Regions from separate parts of the Homo sapiens genome. Here regions 1 and 3 are each linked to region 2. Evidence: promoter capture Hi-C in 16 types of primary human blood cells and fetal thymus (Javierre and others, 2016). All regions are on one chromosome and are shown on one strand. The core of a region is centred on a gene start or on the middle of the fragment in contact, and the rest is flanking DNA. Distances in the headings are between cores, read along the strand shown.

The links. Contacts are between HindIII fragments. The CHiCAGO score rates a contact against its expected background, and 5 or more counts as called.
Region 1: a fragment that was not itself captured here is called in contact with the fragment with the promoter of MYH11 in region 2 in 2 of 17 cell types (endothelial precursors and megakaryocytes); the score reaches 6.5 in endothelial precursors.
Region 3: a fragment that was not itself captured here is called in contact with the fragment with the promoter of MYH11 in region 2 in 2 of 17 cell types (megakaryocytes and endothelial precursors); the score reaches 6.6 in megakaryocytes.

Annotation. Positions count from the first base shown.
Region 1 is chr16:15,817,023-15,820,534 of GRCh38, reverse strand. The region is part of intron 3 of MYH11 (myosin heavy chain 11); the gene reads left to right. Among named protein-coding and RNA genes, the nearest start is that of MYH11, 38 kb to the left of the region's middle. The HindIII fragment of the contact is 155 bases long and covers 2,147-2,301 here.
Region 2 is chr16:15,855,061-15,858,563 of GRCh38, reverse strand. It overlaps MYH11 (myosin heavy chain 11), which reads left to right and starts at 1,536. Exons shown (of 41, transcript NM_002474.3): 1 at 1,536-1,623. RefSeq lists an enhancer at 1-490. The HindIII fragment of the contact is 5,018 bases long and covers 1-3,503 here.
Region 3 is chr16:15,800,017-15,803,413 of GRCh38, reverse strand. The region is part of intron 3 of MYH11 (myosin heavy chain 11); the gene reads left to right. Among named protein-coding and RNA genes, the nearest start is that of MYH11, 55 kb to the left of the region's middle. The HindIII fragment of the contact is 4,109 bases long and covers 1-3,397 here.

The sequences.
Region 1 (3,512 bases), core at 975-3,474, 39 kb after region 2:
ATTGCCCTGAATCTTTTTCTTTCTTTTGTCTTTCTTTCTTTCTTTTTTTTTTTTTTTTTCCGGATGGAGTTTCCCTCTTGGTGCCCAGGTTGGAGTGCAATGGTGTGATCTCAGCTCACTGCAACCTCCACCTCCTGGGTTCAAGCGATTCTACTGCCTCAGCCTCCCAAGTAACTGGGATTATAGGCATGTGCCACCACACCCGGCTAATTTTGTATTTTTAGTAGAGATGGGGTTTCACCATGTTACCCAGGATGGTCTCGATCTCCTGACATTGTGATCTGCCCGCCTCAGCCTCCCATAGTGCTGGGATTACAGGCATGCACCATCACACCAGGCTAATTTTGTATTTTTAGTAGAGATGGGGCTTTACCATGTTGGTCAGACTGGTCTTGAACTCCTGGCCTCAGGTGATCCTCCCACCTCGGCCTCCCAAAGTGGTGGGATTACAGGTGTGCACCACCACACTTGGCCCCTGAATCTTTTTTTTGGCCTTTCCAAGGCCACTGACTTTGCCAGTCACTGCACCTTGTTTTCCAGAACTGCCACTTTGTTTTGTGTTCATATCATGATGGTGGCTATTGATACCCAATAATTGGCAAGGTGAAGCCACTGAATCGTCGGAGAAGGAGGTTTCGGTGGAGTTTGATCGCTCTTGTAGTCATTGAAGAATACTTTTGTGTTGTGGGGACTTTTGCTTTCCTAGACCAGCAGTCCCCAACCTTTTTGACACCAGGGACCAGTTTCATAGAAGTCAGTTTTTCCATGGACCGCAGGGGAGAGATGGTTCGGGATGATTCGAGCGCATTACATTTATTGTGCACTTTATTTCTATGATTACATTGTCATATATAATGAAATCATTATACAACTCACCATCATGTAGAATCAGTGGGAGCCCTGAGCTTGTTTTCCTGCAACTAGACGGTCCCATCTGGGGGTGATGGGAGACAGTGACAGATCATCAGGCATTAGATTCTCATAAGGAGCACACAGCCTGGATCCCTCTTATGTGCAGTTCACAGTAGGGTTGGTGGTTCTATAAGAGTCTAATGCCGCCTCTGATCTGAGAGGAAGCAGAGCTCAGGCAGTAATTGGAGTGATAGGGAGTGGCTGTAAATACAGATGAAGCCCACTACTCACCTCCTGCTGTGCAGTACCAGTCGGTGGTTTGAGATGCCTGCGCTAGACCACCTCTTAACTGTGAGGCAATGTTGTAATTGACAAGGACACCCTGTGTTCATATATTTGATTCCTCATGGTCTCTAGGTTTTAACACAAAATTGCATAGTCAGCTCTCTTGAAACTACTTAGAAATGCTCACTTGACACATAGTAAGCTCCAATAGGAAATGACTATCATGATTGAGCACAGCAGCATGTCTTCAGTCCTAGCACTTTGGGAGGCCAAGGCAGGAGGATCACTTGAGGCCAGGAGTTAGAGACCAGCCTGGCCAACATAGTGAGCTCTTGTCTCTACAAAAAAATAATTAGCTGGCCACAGTGCGTGAGTCTGTAGTCCTAGCTACTCTGGAGGCTGAGGCAGGAGGATGGCTTGAGCCCAGGACTTCAAGAATGCAGTGTGCTATGATCGTGCTATGGTACTCCAGCCTTGGCAACAGAGTAAGACCCTGTCACGAAAGAAAGAAAGAAAATGAAAACCGTGAATATGCACATCCATAAAAGATAAACTCTTTACTTAATTTAAATGTTAACCAACACCTGCTATGCCCTCGTCTATTTTGGCATGACCTGGTGCTTTCTGGCAAATCATTGATGGCGGACTCCAAAAATAAAAAGAATCGGGCACGGTGGCTAACGCCTGTAATCCCAGCACTTTGGGAGGCCAAGGTGGGGGGATCATGAGATCAGGAGATCGAGACCATCCTGGCTAACGTGGTGAATCTCCGTCTCTACTAAAAATACAAAAAAAACTAGCCAGGCACAGTGGCAGGCGCCTGTAGTCCCAGCTACTCAGGGGGTGCTGAGGCAGGAGAATGGTGTGAACCCAAGAGGCGGAGCTTGCAGTGAGCCGAGATCACGCCACTGCACTCTAGCCTGGGCAACAAAGCGAGACTCCATCTCAAAATAAATAAATAAATAAAAAATAAAAAGAATGTCAAAAATAATGGAGAAAAATTTAAGCTTGGGAAGAATTCCGTTCACCTGCTTAATTTTTTCTCCATTCCCAAGTAGGAAATTGGTTTTTGTGAAGAAACACGTAGGCCCAGTGTGTTGACTCCATTGATAAATGGCACGATCTCATTCTGTTAAGTCACTGGGCTGCGATCCACACTAAGCTTACCATGAAGGTGGAGAGAGAAAGCTAGCACATGTGGCTTCTTCCTTGAGTTCTTCATGGAAAAGATGGGGTGTGAAAAGGCGGGATTGAGGAGGGATGGGTAACACACATGCACTGAATATAAGATGAAGCATTGCAGTTGTGTCACATAGACAGTAAGTTCCTGAGGACCTATAAACTCCATCCTTCTTGCATGTGCATCATTGTATCTCCAGCACATTTTCTGGTGCCTGGCACATAGTAGCTGCTCAGTATTTGTTGAATCAATGAATTATTAGAGTTATTTATAGAAAAGAACCTACCAGGGTCAGGATGGATGGGGTGGGTTATTTGAGAGAGGTGGGGCTTTATAAGCCTCGAAGAATGGTTTGCTAAGGTGAGAGAAGGGGGCAGGGATGGCTTTCTAGCCAAGAATAATAAAAGCATAAATGTAGGGGTGAGAATGGGTATGATGAGTGTGGCAGGAGCTGGTTTAGAGGGGTTGACTAGTATACTGTGGCAGGGAGCTCAGAGCCAGAGCTCAGCCCTTTGCTGCCTCACAGGAGTTGGGAAAATGGGAGGGACTTTCTAAGAGATACTTCACAACATGGCACCCTCCCAAGTGGAAGCCAAGCCCCTTGAGGGTATGGGAAGAGAAGCTGATATTTAAAATATGTATCTTATATCTGCATATGCATAAATTATGTCATGTTTATTTTTTAAATTCTCCCCCCCTTTTTTTTTGAGGCAGAGTCTCGCCCTGCCACCCAGGCTGGAGTGCAGCAGCACGATCTCAGCTCAGTGGTATGATTTCTGCTCACTGCAACCTCTGTCTCCTGGGTTCAAGCAATTCTTGTGCCTCAGCCTCCTGAGTAGCTGGGACTACAGGCACACACCACCATGCCTGGCTAATTTTTGTATTTTTAGTAGAGATGGGGTTTTGCCATGTTGGCCAGGCTGGTTTCAAACTCCTGACCTCAGGTGATCTGCCCGCCTCAACCTCCCAAAGTGCTGAGATTACAGGCATGAGCCACTGCGCCCGGCCGTGGTTTGTTTTTGGAAAGATGTTACATACAAATTCAAAAGGTGAACTTCTCCCTTCAACCCTTGTGCATTAGACCCTTAGCTTCCCTCCCAAGAGACAATTATGGTTTCTAGTGTATGAGGTTTTCTCCTAGAGATATTTTTGCAAGTATAAGCAAATAGGTATCTATTTTCTTCCCTAAGATTTC
Region 2 (3,503 bases), core at 287-2,786:
GGGGCAACGGCGGCCGGTGGCTGCGTGAAGGGCCCCCTCCCCCGACGCCGGGGAGCAGGAAGGCCACTCGGCACCATATTTAGTCAGGGGGAGCCGGCAGCCCAGAGCTGGTATGCGGCGCTGGGAATTCCTGCAGGAAGGAGTCCGCGCCTGCCCTTTTTGGGTTGTCTCCCGCCCGCCGCTCCCGCCGCTCCCGGGGAGGGGGACCGGCCCGGCCCGGCCCGGCCCGGGAACCTCGGAGGAGCTGGTGCCGCGCGGGGAGCGGAGCGCCCGGGCTGCCCGCGGGTCCCCGGCCTGGCGCGGGGCCAGCCCACCGCCTCGACTTCCTTTTATGGCCTGTGTGTGCGTGCGTGGACAGGAGCGGGGAGGGAGGGACGGGGAGAAGACGGAGAGCCTGGGGAAGAGAGAGAGAGAAAGCGCAGAGATAGGAGTGAGACACGCGGGAGAGATGGAGAGCAAGAGACACAGAGACCAGAGACAAAGTGAGACAGGAGGGAGAGACAGATACATCGACAGATCTAGAGAAGCGAGAGGGACAGAGACAAAAGATAGAGCGAGAGACAGCAATGATCAGAGTGACAGACATGCAGAGACAGTGGCAGAGACAGAGCGAGAGAGCCTGTGATGGAGAGAGACAGGGAATGCAATTTTAGGCGAGGAATCCTTGGGGAAGGGAAGTTGTTGAAGGGAACTCGCAGACTCTGGGGGCACACCCACTTTCTCCTTGGATCTTGACACTTGCATCTTGTAAATAACGTAATTATCACCGCCACCGCCTTCCCCCATTTTGTAGCTATGGACACCAAGTCTCAGAGAAGTGAAGTGACTTGCCCAAGGTCACGCAGCTGGCGAGTGGCGCACAGGGGAGGGGGACAGCTGAAATAATCACAGTGGGCTTATTTTTAATTTTTATTTGTATTTTGGTCGTGGTGATGTGGGTGGAGGTGGAGATGGCAAGTTGGGAAAAGTAAAAACTTCCCCTTCCTGCACGGTTCCCAGCAAGGGTGGGGGCCTCCTGTCTTGCACTTTGCAAAGTTCAAGAAATCCCCTTTCCCTACCCTTCACGCTGCACAGCCGGCCCTCTTTCCAGACAGTGCGATGCCAATAAAATGGGAAGTGGGGTGGGAGATGTCAAGTCAGATCCACCACAGCCCCGACACGGGGAGGAAGAGGTTAAAGCCTTTGCGGCCGGAACCGACTCAGGGAAGACGTTCTCAAGCATCCCGCACAGACACTGCCTGCTCGACCCCCTTTCTCTAGGGATCCGGAGCGTCTGCGACCGCCTGGGGCCGGGGCTGAGACTCCCGTCCCTGTGCGCACCTGTTCCGTGCGCCCTTGTGCGGTGCGCACCTGTTCCGTGCACCCTTGTCCCGAGCGCCCCAGCTCCTTGCGCTCCCGCCGGGGGTGCGCCCTGCAGGGGGCGCGGCGAGGGGGCCGCGAGGGACCCTCCCCAACTCCACCCCTTCGGCCTCCTCCCCTTTCCCAGCCGCGGGCAGCTCCGGGTCTATAAAGAGAGGCGTCCGAGGACGCGCAGGGAGATTTGGACGCTCCGGCCTGGGAGGTGCGTCAGATCCGAGCTCGCCATCCAGTTTCCTCTCCACTAGTCCCCCCAGTTGGAGATCTGTAAGTAGTAGTTGTCATTCTGGGGGCAGATTGCAGGGCAGGGGGGTGTTAAAAGTCCTATAGGGTATTCTATAGGGGCTGGGGTGCACTTAGGGGTCCCTGTTGTCAACCTCGTAAGGGCCATGGTGGGGGCAGAGTTGTGATTTGGATCTCTCTCTGCCTTATCGTCTTAGATTATCCTAGACTTTCCCCAAACAGCATTTCTTAAGATTGCCAGTGAGAAGTACCATTTTGGGGGTGCTTATTAACGATATCAATGCCTGGACCCAACTCCATTTCCCAACTCTAGAATCCCCAGAAAAACTGCCTTAAAAAAAAAAAAATTAGTCCCGAGTGATTCTTGTTAAGAGGCTAATCCAGGAGATATGCTCCCTTGGAAATCTCAGAGGTCCGGTGCAGACAATCAAGGCATCTCACTTTTATTCTAGGCACCAAAAAATTTACAGCTGAACTTCACTGAAAAGTCACTTGCTATCACACAGAAGGGCAAAGTGAGGCTCCTTGTGGATTTGACCGTATTGCACAGTTGTGTTGATAATGCATTAAATCAGTTAAAAACACATGGGCATAGGCTTAGCAGAAAGGAGTGTTGTTGTTTTTTTTTTTTAATCAGTTTAGGGGAGGTTCTTCTATGTTGAGAACCCCTGGGAGATAAGGCTGGTTGTGATCTAGTTTGTTACAGCCCACTTTTTCCTCTTCTCCAAATTAAAAAAAAAAAAAACAACTCACCCAGGTTGACCCCAAAGGGCCCCCAGATACCCAGGTGGGCTCCAAAGTCTCCATTTGCTTCCACGATCTGCAGGTGCGTTAGGTAAGATTACACTAGAATTTCCCGCAGAGCCACCTGTGTCAATGCCACTCTCGTGCCCAACCAAATGGGTAAAACGAGAGAAAGTGTGGCTACTGCCTGTTGTAAGTTTTCTTCCAGCACAGGGTCTGGTAGGGATTTTGCCACTTGAGAAAAGGTACCATCCAAAGCCATGCTTGTCAAGAAGTAAAAGAAAATATTTAGAAACCCAAGGTGGGAGTGTTTAGTTGCAGTATGAAGAACTGAGAGATTAAATGGTGAACTGTCCGTCCGGGGTTTGGCAAAAAGAATGCAGGCTATTAATAAACTGCTTTGCATAGTTTTTTGTTTCTTTGATTTACTCAACGATACTATTTTAGAATTGTTCAGAGACGGAACTTGACGCTGAACTGAAAGTCATTAGGTGGCAGGGTGTGAAATAAGATAGAGAATTTTGTTTGAAGGAAATTGATGTTTTCCCTTTGAGATAGCTACCGTTGATGGAACACTTCAGTGCCACATGCTGTTGCAACATTTAACTTAATTTATCTCATTTAATCTTTGCAACAACTTCATAAGAAAGGCTTTATGATGCCTGTTTAGTATACAAGGCAGCTGAGGCTCAGAGAGGTAAAGTGTCACACAGCCAGCAAGTGGTAGAACCCATTCCCGGGTCAGTTTGAGTCCAAGTTCATACCCTTGACCCCACTATCTTTCTTCTTTACCATGGACACAAACTTGTTGGGGTCAGGTTTCTGGTGGGACTAAATGCTTCCAACAAAGTAAATGTTTATCACCGTGTCCTTTGAAGAAAACATAAACTGACTTTTTGCACATTTAAAATAAAAGGCACTGTTTGTCCCCTGATTGAGGGGGTGACCTAGCTGAAACCAGTGACCCTAGGTGGGCTGCCATGCCGAGAGTCCAGAACGTGAACTAGCTGGGTCTTTTCCGAGAAGCCGCCAGGCTTGCCTTGTAAACACCATGTTTTTTTATTATCATGTCCGAAATAGATGTGTTATTCCGTACAAGGTATCTGTTATGGATTTGTTATCATTACTTTTCCGTGGGAGGGCAGAGATTGAGGCAAACA
Region 3 (3,397 bases), core at 300-2,799, 55 kb after region 2:
TCCCAGCTACTCGGGGGGCCGAGGTGGAAGAATTGCTTGAAACCAGGAGGCAGAGGTTGCAGTGAGCCAAGATCGAGCCACTGCACTCCAGCCTGGGTGACAGAGCGAGACTCCATTTCAGAAAAAAAAAAAAAATTAAACTGGTTTCCCATTTTGCTCTGTCCTCGAGTGAATTTCTCCCCCTGGGTGGAAGCTAAAGGCACGGGTATCTGTCTGTCTCCAGAGTATAATGGAGAGATTAAAGTTTGATTGCTTTTTTCCTGCTTTTTTTTTCTTTGAGATGGGGTCTTGCTCTGTTGCCCAGGCTGGAGTGCAGTGGCAAAATCTCAACTCACTGCAACCTCCACCTCCTGGGTTCAAGTGATTCTCCTGCCTTAGCCTCCCGAGTAGCTGGGACTACAGGTGCCTGCCGCCATGCCTGGCTAATTTTTTGTATTTTTAGTAGAGATGGGTTTCACCATGTTGCCCAGGCTGGTCTCGAACTCCTGACCTCAGGTGATCCACCCACGTGCTGGGATTACAGGTGTGAGCCACCACGCCCGGCCTCCTTTCTCTTATAAATAGGGACACCATTGATTTAGGTCTCACTCCAAGCCAGGATGACCTCATCTCAACATCCTTCCCTTAATTACATCTGCAAGACCCTTATTCTAAATAAAATCACAGGTGGGATACAGTGGCTCACGCCTGTAATCCCAGCACTTTGGGAGGCTGAGGCAGGTGGGTCACTTGAGCCCAAGAGTGTGAAACCAGCCTGGGCAACATAGCAAGACCCAATCTCTACAAAAAATACAAAAATTAGCCGGGCATGCTGGCATGTGCCTATAGTCCCAGCTACAGGGGAGGCCGAAGAGGGAGGATTGCTTGAGCCTGGGAGGTTGAGGTTGCAGTGAGCTGAGATCACGCCACTGTACACCCACCTGGGCGACAAAGTGAGACCCCATCTCAATCAATTGGTTAGTCAATAACATCGCAGTCTGAGGTTCTGAGTGAACATAGCTTTTGGGAGTCACAGTTCAACCCACCCTAGTGACCTTGGGCAAGTTGCCTCACTTCTGAACCTCACTCTCCTTATTTGTAAAATGGAGGCAATGCCAGTGCCCACCCCAGGAGCTGCTGAGAGAATTCAGTGGGTCACTTCAACACAGAAGTTCAGCATACGCCTGCAGTGCAGTGAGTGCTCGGGAGATCGGAGCTGTTAGTGGGATCCTAATGCGGTGGCTCTTTCTTTTCTGTCTTTTTTTAGCTTTGTGGTCATGATGGTTTCATAAAGAACAATACCGACTCTTTTTCTATTGACCATTTTTGGTGGGATGAGGAAAAGATTGTATGTGTTCATAGCACAAACATAACCAGGATAGAAGTAGAATGGGTGAAAGTAGGTCTTCCTCCTGTCCCTTTTCTCAATACTTCAGGCTCAGGCCTGTTTGTTGGTTTTTTTTGTTTGTTTTGTTTTGTTTTTGGAGTCTCGCTCTGTTGCCCAGGCTGGAGTGTAGTGGCATGATCTCACCTCACTGCAACCTCCACCTCCTGGGTTGAAGTGATTCTCCTGCCTCAGCCTCCGGAGTACCTTGGATTACAGGTGCATGCTACCATGCCCAGCTAATTTTTGTATTTTTAGTAGAGACAGCGTTTCACCATGTTGGCCAGGCTGGTCTTGAACTCCTGACCTCAAGTGATCTGCCCGCCTCAGCCTTCCGAAGTGCTGGGATTACAAGTGTGAGCCACCGCACCCATCCCAGGTCTGTTTTTAGAGATAGGGTCTCACTCCATTGCCCAGGCTGGAGTGCAGTGGTGTAATCACAGCTCACTGCAACCTTGAACTCCTTGGCTCAAGGGATCCTACTGTCTCAGCCTCCCAAGTAGCTGGGACAAGGGGTATGTCTATCACACATAGCTAATTAAAAAAAAATTTTTTTTTGTAGAGACTGGGTCTTGCTATGTTGTCCAGGCTGGTCTGGAACTCCTGGCCTCAAGTGATCCTCCCATCTCAGCCTCCCAAAGTGTTGAGATTACAGGCATGAACCACTGCATCCTACCTATATATCTGTCTTTTTAAAACACAAAAGGTATAACACTATGCTACCTCATCTTTTATTTTTAGCTTAATATATTTTGGATATTTTTCTGTGTCCATCCACAAAGCTCTGCCTGGTTCTTTTCAATGGCTGCCTATTTTATTTATGTATTTATATCTTATTTGTTTTTGAAACAGAGTCTTGCTCTGTTGCCCAGCCTGGCATGCAGTGGCACGATCTCGGCTCACTGCAACGTCCGCCTCCTGAGTTCAAGCAATTTTCCTGCCTCAGCCTTCTGAGTAGCTGGGATTACAAGCGTGTGCCATGACACCCAACTAATTTTTGTATTTTTAGTGGAGATGGGGTTTCACCATGTTAGCCAGGCTGGTCTGGAACTCCTGAACTCAAGTGATCCACCCTCCTTGGCCTCCCAAAGTGGTGAGATTACAGGCATGAGCCACTGCGCCCGGCCTGCCTATTTTTAAATGTGCCATTATATAAACACACCAGAATTGAAACCCCAGAGCTGACTAGTCTTTAGGCCTTTTGTCTTGAGGATTTCGTTCAACCAGGCCACCCAAACATCCATCTATAATCCGAGGGAAGAGAGAGAGAACTGATTGGAGTTGGGCATAGAATCTGAGGAACGTGCCCACATCCAATCAGTTCTCTCTTAAGATTACAGATGGAAGAAAGAGTCATCTCTTTCACCTTGCCTTCTTCAGTCCCATCCATCCTCCCATTCATATTCCCATCCATCCATCCATCCATCCATCCATCCATCCATCCATCCATCCAACTCATTTACCGGCCTATACACTCTGTCCTCCCTCCCATTCACCCACCCATCCACTCTCTCATCCACTCACTCATCCTTCCCTCCTCCGTCCAACCATCCGTCCAACCAGCTATATACCCACCCATCTACCCATCTACACACCCTTCCCTCCTTTCTTCTTTCTTTCTTCCTATCTATCCATCCATCCTTCCTTCTTTCCATCCATCTATTCGTCCACCTACCCACCCACCCACTCATCCATTTGTCTTCCTGTCTCTCTACCTGTCCATCTATCCATCCTTCCATCCAGCCATCTGTCTGCCTATTCACCCAGCCTCCCATCCATTTATCCTCCCGTCCATTTACCTATCCATCCATTCTTCCATCCACCCATCCTTTCTTCCTTCCTTCTTTCCTTTCTTCCTTCCTTCCACTCACTTGCCCATCCACCTCTTCTTCCATCCTCCCATCCATCTACTCATCTATCCATCCATTTTCCCACCCATCTGCCCATCCACCCACCCACCTACTCACCTACTCATCTGCTTATCCACCCTCCCGTCCATCTGTCTATTCATCCACCCACCCACCCATCCATCTA